3 separate regions of the Homo sapiens genome follow, and regions 1 and 3 are each linked to region 2. Evidence: promoter capture Hi-C in 16 types of primary human blood cells and fetal thymus (Javierre and others, 2016). All regions are on one chromosome and are shown on one strand. Each heading gives the region's core, a stretch centred on a gene start or on the middle of the fragment in contact. The rest is flanking DNA. Distances are from core to core; before and after follow the strand shown. Region 1 overlaps MYO10 (myosin X). Region 2 holds the start of ZNF622 (zinc finger protein 622). Region 3 has its middle 1.6 kb from the start of MYO10.

Evidence for each region. The method cuts DNA at HindIII sites, captures the fragments that hold promoters and counts their contacts. A CHiCAGO score of 5 or more calls a contact.
Region 1: a contact is called between a fragment that was not itself captured here and the fragment with the promoter of ZNF622 in region 2, in 4 of 17 cell types (non-activated CD4 T cells, naive CD8 T cells, naive CD4 T cells and 1 more). The highest score is 7.0, in non-activated CD4 T cells.
Region 3: a fragment that was not itself captured here is called in contact with the fragment with the promoter of ZNF622 in region 2 in 1 of 17 cell types (fetal thymus); the score reaches 5.6 in fetal thymus.

The regions. Positions count from the first base shown.
Region 1 is chr5:16,756,156-16,758,991 of GRCh38, forward strand. MYO10 (myosin X) reads right to left here. Exons shown (of 41, transcript NM_012334.3): 18 at 1,963-2,071. Among named protein-coding and RNA genes, the nearest start is that of RETREG1, 140 kb to the left of the region's middle. The HindIII fragment of the contact is 223 bases long and covers 1,201-1,423 here.
Region 2 is chr5:16,464,544-16,467,243 of GRCh38, forward strand. ZNF622 (zinc finger protein 622) reads right to left here and starts at 1,257. Exons shown (of 6, transcript NM_033414.3): 1 at 498-1,257. The coding sequence starts at 1,122. RefSeq lists an enhancer at 565-634 and a silencer at 2,442-2,664. The HindIII fragment of the contact is 4,211 bases long and covers 1-2,700 here.
Region 3 is chr5:16,936,373-16,939,303 of GRCh38, forward strand. No RefSeq gene overlaps it. Among named protein-coding and RNA genes, the nearest start is that of MYO10, 1.6 kb to the left of the region's middle. The HindIII fragment of the contact is 573 bases long and covers 1,395-1,967 here.

The DNA of each region.
Region 1 (2,836 bases), core at 62-2,561, 290 kb after region 2:
TCAACCTTCCAGACTCAAGTGATCCTCCTACCTCAGCCTCCTGAGTAGCTGGGAATACAAGGGCATGCCGAATAACTTTTTAATTTTTTTTGTAGAGATGAGGCCTCGCTATGTTGCCCAGGCTGGTCTCGAACTCCTCGACTCAAGCAATCTTTCCACCTAGGCCTCCTAAAGTGCTGGGATTACAGGCATGTGTCACCATGCCCAGCCCATAAATTTTAAAGGGTTTGTTCTTTTGCATCAAAATGCAAATATGGTCCATTCATTGTAATTGGTGGATGCATCTTTTCAGTCTCTTTTAATCCACTGGCTTTCCCTCCATCTGTCTCTTTTTTCTTCTCATAATCTTGTTGAAGAAAACTGAACTGTCTGAACACTACATGGATTAATTACTTCTCCAGCTCAGAAAACTTTAAAATTTCTCACAAGACAAAACATCCTGACATTCACGGCCCTTCATATTTTGATACCATCTTAAATTCTCACGAGGTGTCCTGTCCGGCTGGTGTTCTACTGTCTGTTGACAGTCCTCAGAGACAGGACTTGCATCTCTGTGTCTGGGCTCTTCTCCTGCCTTCGCCTGCACCTGGAAAGCTCACCCACCCTTTTCCATTTCCTTCACTGCTAGTCCAGTTTAAAGTCTCAAACATTTCAAAAACCCAAGGGTGGGTGCAGTGGCTCACGTCTGTAATTCCAGCACTTTGGGAGGCTGAGGCAGGAGGATCGCTGGAGGCCAGAATTTTGAGATCAGCCTGGGCAACATAATAAGACCCCATCTCAGTAAAACATCTAAAAATTAGCCGGGTATGAAAAATTAGCCATGCGTAATGGCGCATGCCTCTAGTCCCAGCTACTTGGGAGGCTGAGGCAGAAGAATCTCTTGAATCTGGGAGGTAGAGGTTGCAGTGAGCTGAGATCGTGCCATTGCATTCCAGCCTGGGTGACAGAGCGAGACTCTGCCTTTAAAAAAAAAAAAAAAAAAAAAAAAGTCGGGTGTAGTGGCTTACACCTGTAGTGCCAGCTACTCAGGAGGCTGAGGGGGGAGAATCACTTGCGCCTGGGAGTTTGAGGCTGCAGTGAGGCGTGATTACACCACTGCACTCCAGTCTGGGTGACAGAACAAGACCCTGTCTCACACACACACAAACACACACACACACGCACACACACACACACACACACACACACGGAAAAAAAAAAAGCTTTCTCAGAGAAGTCCTGGCAAACCGACCTTCTAGAAAAAGAAAACTGAAAACCTCTGCTGGAAGATTAAGAGCCTAGGACAAGGTAACTGACATCAGTCTCATCTAACCAGGGGGAAAAAACATCCAGATATGAGAAGAAATATATCCCATTTCCACATGAGTCTCTAAATACAAATCAGAGTGGTCCCAAATGGCCTTAAGGAGTTTGCTATTTCAAAAGCTTAGAAGAAATAGCCATTTATTTTTTTAAAAAGGATCTACATGTTTTCATCTGACTCAGAGAAAAAGTCTATTTTATTTCTTTTCTCTCTTTTTTTAGACAGAGTCTAGGTCTTACGCTGTCACCCAGGCTGGAGTGCAGTGGTGCAATCACAGCTCTCTGCAATCTTGATCTCCCAGGCTCAGGCAATCCTCCCACCTCAGCCTCCTGAGTAGCTGGGACTACAGGCATGCGCCACCGCACCCAGATAATTTCTGTATTTTTTGTAGAGACAGGATTTCACCATGTTGCCCCGGCTGGTTTTGAACCCCTGAGCTCAGGTGATCTGCCCACCTCGGCCTCCCAAAGTGCTGAGAATACAGGCGTGAGCCAAAACTCTATTTTATTTCTAAAGCACTATCTGGTTTAAAAGCATGATATAAAAGGAAACAAAAATAAACAAATATTCTCATAGACTTCACATACACCCAAATCCTCTTTTCAGTTCTTAAAAATACAGTAACGACGGATTCCTCTAAGCCAGCAGTGAAAACGAACCTTGAACTGTGAGCTGACTGTAGGCCGCCGATGTTTGCTTCCACATTTCAAGGTATCCTGGTTGTTGCGGCTTGAAACATGTTCAAAAAGATCGTAGATAAAGTCAAATCTGTGTGAGGCAAGAGCAGGAGGTCAGTGAGGCACACACACCCATTATTAGGTGCAAGATTATTGTAATTAATGGTGCCCTTTCTCAATGATAATTCAAAGTAATACACCCTAGGCCTGGAAGAACTAAGACAGCTTCCAAAGATTTCAAACCAAACACTGCCAAAGAGCTTTAGGCACTGAAAACACGTGGCAGTGTCAGAGACCAGAGTCTTGCAGAGAAGGGGACTGGCATGACAGTGACAAAGGGTGGAATCCCACTTAGGAGCTCTGTGCTTTCTGGAATGCCATCTAAGCCTCTGTAGCCTCGGTCTCCTCACTTGCAAAAGTGAGTTATTAGTTTTGCCATCTTGCAGTGTTGCAAAGATTGAAGCAGTTAACGGATGGAAAGGTGCTCCTGGGGAACACTAATTACAGGGTGAGGCAGGCGATGGTTCAAATCCTGTCTCCCCACTTCCCAGCTGTGTTGCTTGGGCAAGATGTTTCATCTCTCTCTAAGCCTCAGTTTTTTCATCTGGAAAATGGAGATAATTTTTTAATTTATCCCCTAATGCCAGGTGAGAATGAAAGGAGAACATGCATGTAAAAGGCAGAAAGCATGCTACCTGGCATATCATATATATTGATATTAGTTATTATTTAAAAAGTTCTGTAAAATCCATTGCTACTATTAACAAGGTAAAAGTGAAAAGCTTCCCAATAATTTTTTTTTTTTAGACAGAGTTTCGCTCTTTCACCCAGGCTGGAGTGCAGTGGTGCGATCTCG
Region 2 (2,700 bases), core at 7-2,506:
AGGGAAGTAAGGAATAAATAGCTCATAAAGGCAAAGAGGTGAGGGTGCTGGCTCCAGCTCCAAATTTCTGGCTGAGTTGGTTTTGATCCCCTCATTCTGTTTTACTCAACTAAATTAAGTGCAAAACCATCATAACTGGAAACCCACTAGAATCGCAAATTACACGGCAGCTGGTATGACGATAGCATGTCCTCCTGTGCATATGTTAAAAGCCTCTTCATCCAAAACACAGAAGGCATCAATTCATTCTCCAAATATGCATTAAGCACTTCTTTTTCCAGACAAGGTTTTAGGCCTTGGAGAATGAATTGAGTGAACTAAACAGCCAAACCTGCTGGCCAGATAAGGCACTTCAGAAAGCGTCTAAACCACCTTCCCTCATCATTTTTACTTAAAAGCTCTCAAACACACACACACACCCATCTCGAGTATAAATCTGGAAACTTAAGGGTGGGCCAAGTTCCTCTTTACCCTCCCCGCCCAGACAGGGCCATCACCGTCTCCATCCAGGTCCTCTTCCTCCTCCTCGCTGTCCTCCTCCTGCTGCTTTGCCAACTTCTTCGCCTGCTGTTCAAACCACTGGAGCCGGGGTGGTTTCTCACTCGGGTCTCGGTCGTGGGTCCCACGGCCACCAGTACCCACGGCCACGACATTCCTGGCCTCCTTTGCAGGCGCTGGGGGCGCCTTCTTGGGAGACATGGACGGCTGGGCCTTGATGGCCTGCTGGATGGCCGCGTTCATGGCATCCTTGTCCACACTGTCCACGCCCAGTCCTTTCTCCAAGTTCTTTTCATTCATCATCTCCACTTTCCGATTCACTGCCTGCACGGCCTTCTTCTCCAGCTCAACGTGACGCCGGGACTTGAGGTGGTTCTCGTAGGCGTTGAAAGAGGCAAACTTCTTACTGCAAACGGTGCAGTAGGTGGCCGAGCCCTTGCTCTCCTCCTCCGCGACGGCCCGCTGCGCCCGCACTCGCTCCTGGAAGCCCTCGGCGGTCACTGGGGCCATGCTGGCCACCTTCCGCCGCAGGTTGTAGCGGTGCCAGTCCGTCTTATAGTGGGCCCGCTGCATGTCCGCGTCGCGGAACGCCACCCGGCAAGTTATGCAGGTGTACGTCGCCATTGCCAGGCGAGAAATAAGAACCGACCAAGCCAAACACCTGGTGATCAGCGCCGTGGCCCCACAAGACCCTCAGACCTTAACCCGCCTCAGCAGCCAGGAAGAGCCACTCGACACGCCGACTTCCTGATTGTCACTGAGGAAACTTCCGGCACACGTCGGAAGTTATTCACAACTGGACAGGAAACCCGCCTCTCAGGCTGTGGCCACGCCTCCGCCGCCGTGAGGCCCAGGAAGCCGAGGGAACGCTGTGGCTGAAAGGGACCTGGGTCCGCTCAGTCAGCCCGAGGTGGCTGTTGATTGAGGGAGGTCGCGCCCTCCCAGTTACCTTCCCTGGTGGTTGTGCCGCTCGGTGTGACGCGGTCAAGGGGACGGCTACGCGAGAATGGGGGAGTGGGGCGCCCGAGGCTGCTCCTGGGCCCTGGGAAGCCCCCGATTAATGAATGGTCGGGTCAGCGACGCGAGGGTCGGGGTTTCTCTGAGGACCGCGCGCTGCACCTGCGGAGCCGGGTGAATGGATGTCGCGAAGGCAAGGGCTGCCCTTACCCCTCGGGGCCGACCTCGGAGCCCTCGCCCGTGGTTGCAACGCTTTCCCGGGAAACCGGAGAAGCCAGGCCGGGGGCTCGGCCTTTCTGAGGCGGCCCTTCCGGCGGAGGACACCGGCGGAATTTGAGTGCACAGAGTGCGCGAGAGGAGCTCCCTGTAGACACACAGTCCAAGCCACGTAGGTAATTCTAATAGCAGCCACATTTTTAAAGAGTAAAGAGAAATCGGTGAAACTGCTTTTAATGTGTTTAATTTAGCCCATCCTGTCATTTCAGCATGTAATCAGTCTAAAAGAATTAATTAGATCTTTTACGCTCTGTCGTTGGTTCTAAGTCTTGGAAATCCAGTGTGTGTTTTAGAGTTAACAGCCCATCTCAATTTGGACTAGACCCGTGCCAGGTGCCCAGTTGGCTGTGTACCCTCATGTATATAGGACAGCAAAGTTCTGTAGAAAAGAACTTCAGGCCAGGCGCGGTGGCTCACGCCCGTAATCCCAGCACTTTGCGAGGCCGAGGCGGGCGGATCATCTGAGGTCAGGGGTTCAAGACCAGCCTGGCCAACATGGCGAAACCCAGTCTCTGCTAAAAAATACAAAAATTAGTCCCGGCGCAGTGGCGCAGACCTGTAATCCCAGCTACTTGGGAGGTTGAGGCAGGAGAATCGCTTGAACCCGGGAGGCGGAGGTTGTGGTGAGCCGAGATCGCGCCACTGCACTCCAGCCTGGGCAACAGAGCAAGATTCCATCTCAAAAGAAAAAGAAAACATGAACTTCAAATGCTTGGGGAGGTCGTAGATTTCATCCACACAGCCTGGTTGAACCAGAGTCAGCCTTGTTAGAGTCGAATGTTGCATGCTCAGAATCCAGGCTGCCAAGAGAAAACCAAAAGAAGATGGCGCTTTAAAAAACCTTCCAGTGCCTTCCCTTGACTCAATCAAATTCAAACACCTTACTTTCTATTCTCCGAGGCTCTACCCCTCCCTCTGAGGTCCTGCCACACCCCCTTCTCTACCCTGCTCACCCTACTTGAGTCGCAA
Region 3 (2,931 bases), core at 431-2,930, 470 kb after region 2:
CCCAGGAGCTTGGCCCTCCGCCAACCACACCGTCTGGCCCCGCCCGGGCGGAGCGCCCCGCCCCCTTCCCGACCAGGCCCCGCCCACTCTAAGCCCGAAGCAGCCGCAGGCTCGTTAGCGGACCCGGGAGGGGGCCGCGTGTTTCCCCAGGTCTTCCCACGTAGGCGTGGGGAGGGGATTTAACTCTTCCCTCTGCAGAGAGAGACTAAACAATCACTTAGAGGGGAGGAGAAGGGACTGGGGGCTTCTGTGCCTTTCATGTTTAGCAGACCCGGGAACCGGCTCAACACGGATCTCATTAATGCAGCCCGGTAGACTAGCAATCTCGGGAAGGAAGCGCGGTCAGCGGAGCTGCCGGGGCTGCGGGGCCAGATCAAAGCGGAAGACGGAGGCTAATCAGAATTTCTGGAAGCTGCATTCCCGTGTTGACTTTCTGTCCTGCAGTCGGGTTTGCTTAAGACGTTTGCGTAACAGCGGGGAAATGTAGTTTTGAAACTGGAAGGGGACGTGGCCAATATCACCTTTAAAAATGTAACCCTTTTCTAGACCTCAAGGAAGCAGAGATGGCAGATGGCACTGAGATGGACGAATGATCAAACCCACCTGGCACTGAGTCCCGTTTCCCCTAGGGCAGTTCTTTTAACTTTATGCTGTGCGAGGGTCACCTGGGAACCTTGTTAGAACGCAGGCTGGAACAATCTGCTTTCCAGGTGCCCCTCAGGTGCTACCTGGTCCTGTGCTGAACGAAAGCTTGTAACAAGTAGAGAAATTAAGAGTAAACGTTTGTAGCAATTTAATAATGCCACGACATCCAAGCACATGATCAGTGGACTCTTTGAACCGAGTATAAACCAGTTTGGGTGTTGTCAGACTCACGTGGTGAGTCACACCTGGCGCCGCAGTGTATTGGTACCTGGCCGACTGGGAACAAAAATGGCTGGTTCTTCAGCACAAAAGATTTGAGATGCTCTCTCCAGGGAATTTGCCAACTGCTACTCAACCTTTAAAACTCAGCTCACAAAGTCACACCTTCCAGGGGAAGGAACCCTTCCCAAAGATGCTACTCCACTCACCCCACCCAAGCTCCCCGTAACCACTGGGCTAGATGCCCACTCTAGGATTTATTCCTAAGACTGTTGGGGAAGGACTGTGCTTTAAGATGAGTATCCCCAGGCTGTCTCACAGCATGAATGAATGAATGAAACATCCTTCTGTAATCCTTATGGGGAAAGTCAAGCATGTTTGTAACTTATCCCAGTCCAGTTCTTCACCATTAATATCATTGCTCCCACCTCACTTCCCTTTAGAAAGAGTCAAGGTGTAAATTAGTTAATGATATTGTGCAATGTTGTTCTGTTTCACAGGTTTACACGCTTAAGGCGCTGAGCCATTAAAGCTTGTGTCCAAGGTCGCAAGGAAAGTGAAGATGGAGTCAGGATAAATACCAACAATCCCAGTGCTTAGTCAAATGGGTCCTGCAACCACTGGTGTTCAGATACTGGAGCAGAACAATTACAGTCATTATGGTATTAATCTGCACACAACATCTCTGCCAGAGAAATTACCAGGGAGATTGTTGAAGTGAGTGTGTGGGTGTGACGTGGTTCCCAGCATCAGCCCAGCCACTGATACGTTGGGCAACCTCGCCATGTCATTTCAAAAGTCACTTTCCATATCGGCTCATCAGTTATAACAAATGTACCACACTAATGCAACATGTTAATAATAGGGGCAAGTGAGGGTGAGGGGCTGGGAGGGGTCTATGGACACTCTCTGTACTTTCTGGCCAATTTTTATGTAAGCCTAAAACTGTTTTTTTAAAGTCTACTAATCTTTTAAAGGTGATTTTCCTGCCAATTATGAAGATATCGTTAATAATTGCCCCCAATTTGACTCACGTAAAGAATGGTGAGCCAGATCCAATATATAAAGTTTAGATTTTACTGAATCATTTTATTTCTTCAAAAAGCTTACATCATCAGTTAACAGGGTAAGAAAGTTAAAAAAAAAAACTTACATCAATGTTTTATCAATGTTGATCCCTAGATCACCTTATCAGTTGCTAAAAAGAAAAAAAAACTGACTCCAAATCTCTGTGGCAAATTGATTTCCTAAGAATTTGCATTTTTTATTTCTTTACCTGTGGATTATATTGAAAGAATTTGCATTTTAATAAGCACCCCGATAACCAGTTCAGAGCTTGGGAATCGCCACTTTATCAGAATTCATCAGCTTTTCTATATATCCCCATATTCTCAAAAAGGTGTAAGATAAGCTGTGGCAGCGAAACTCTTACTTGCTGAACAGCAAAATGCATGTTCTAAATAAGATATCTAACCCTCAAGTATCTGGGGTTGAATCAGTTGTTAAAAAGCAGCGTGTTAAATTTATAAGGGCTTTGACAGGATTGGACAGAGACTGGGAAGCATTTTAAATCAATAGATTTCTAAGAATATCTAGTCTTATTACCATTTCTTAAAATTTGAGTGCTTCCTCTGAGAGAGTTGTGCTAACCACTGGACAAAGCAGTTTAGACCAAATCTATTAAACCCTGCCCTCTGAGAAGCGACAGAGGCACAAGAATGGTAATAATAGAAGGATGAGTGTGTTTCCATGAGGCAAAGGTCTGTCTCAACTCTCTGTCCTACCTGTCTTTCAAATAAACCAGGCTAACAGAGTATGACATTTTCAAAATAAAACACCCCCAAAAGCTCAAGTTAAGTTATCTTATTTAGTGGCATACATTAATCTACAATCAACAAAATTTTAATACTGATTGGATCATTTCCCCACTGAAAGAGAGAGTTGCATATGTATATTTGTGAGTTAAGTAATAACAATCTTCTGTTTTTGTTCTCCACCAACAGTTTGTTCGTTTTTAGTTGAAACGGGTTGTCTCATTTCCTTTGTGAATTCAAACTGAGTTCCTTT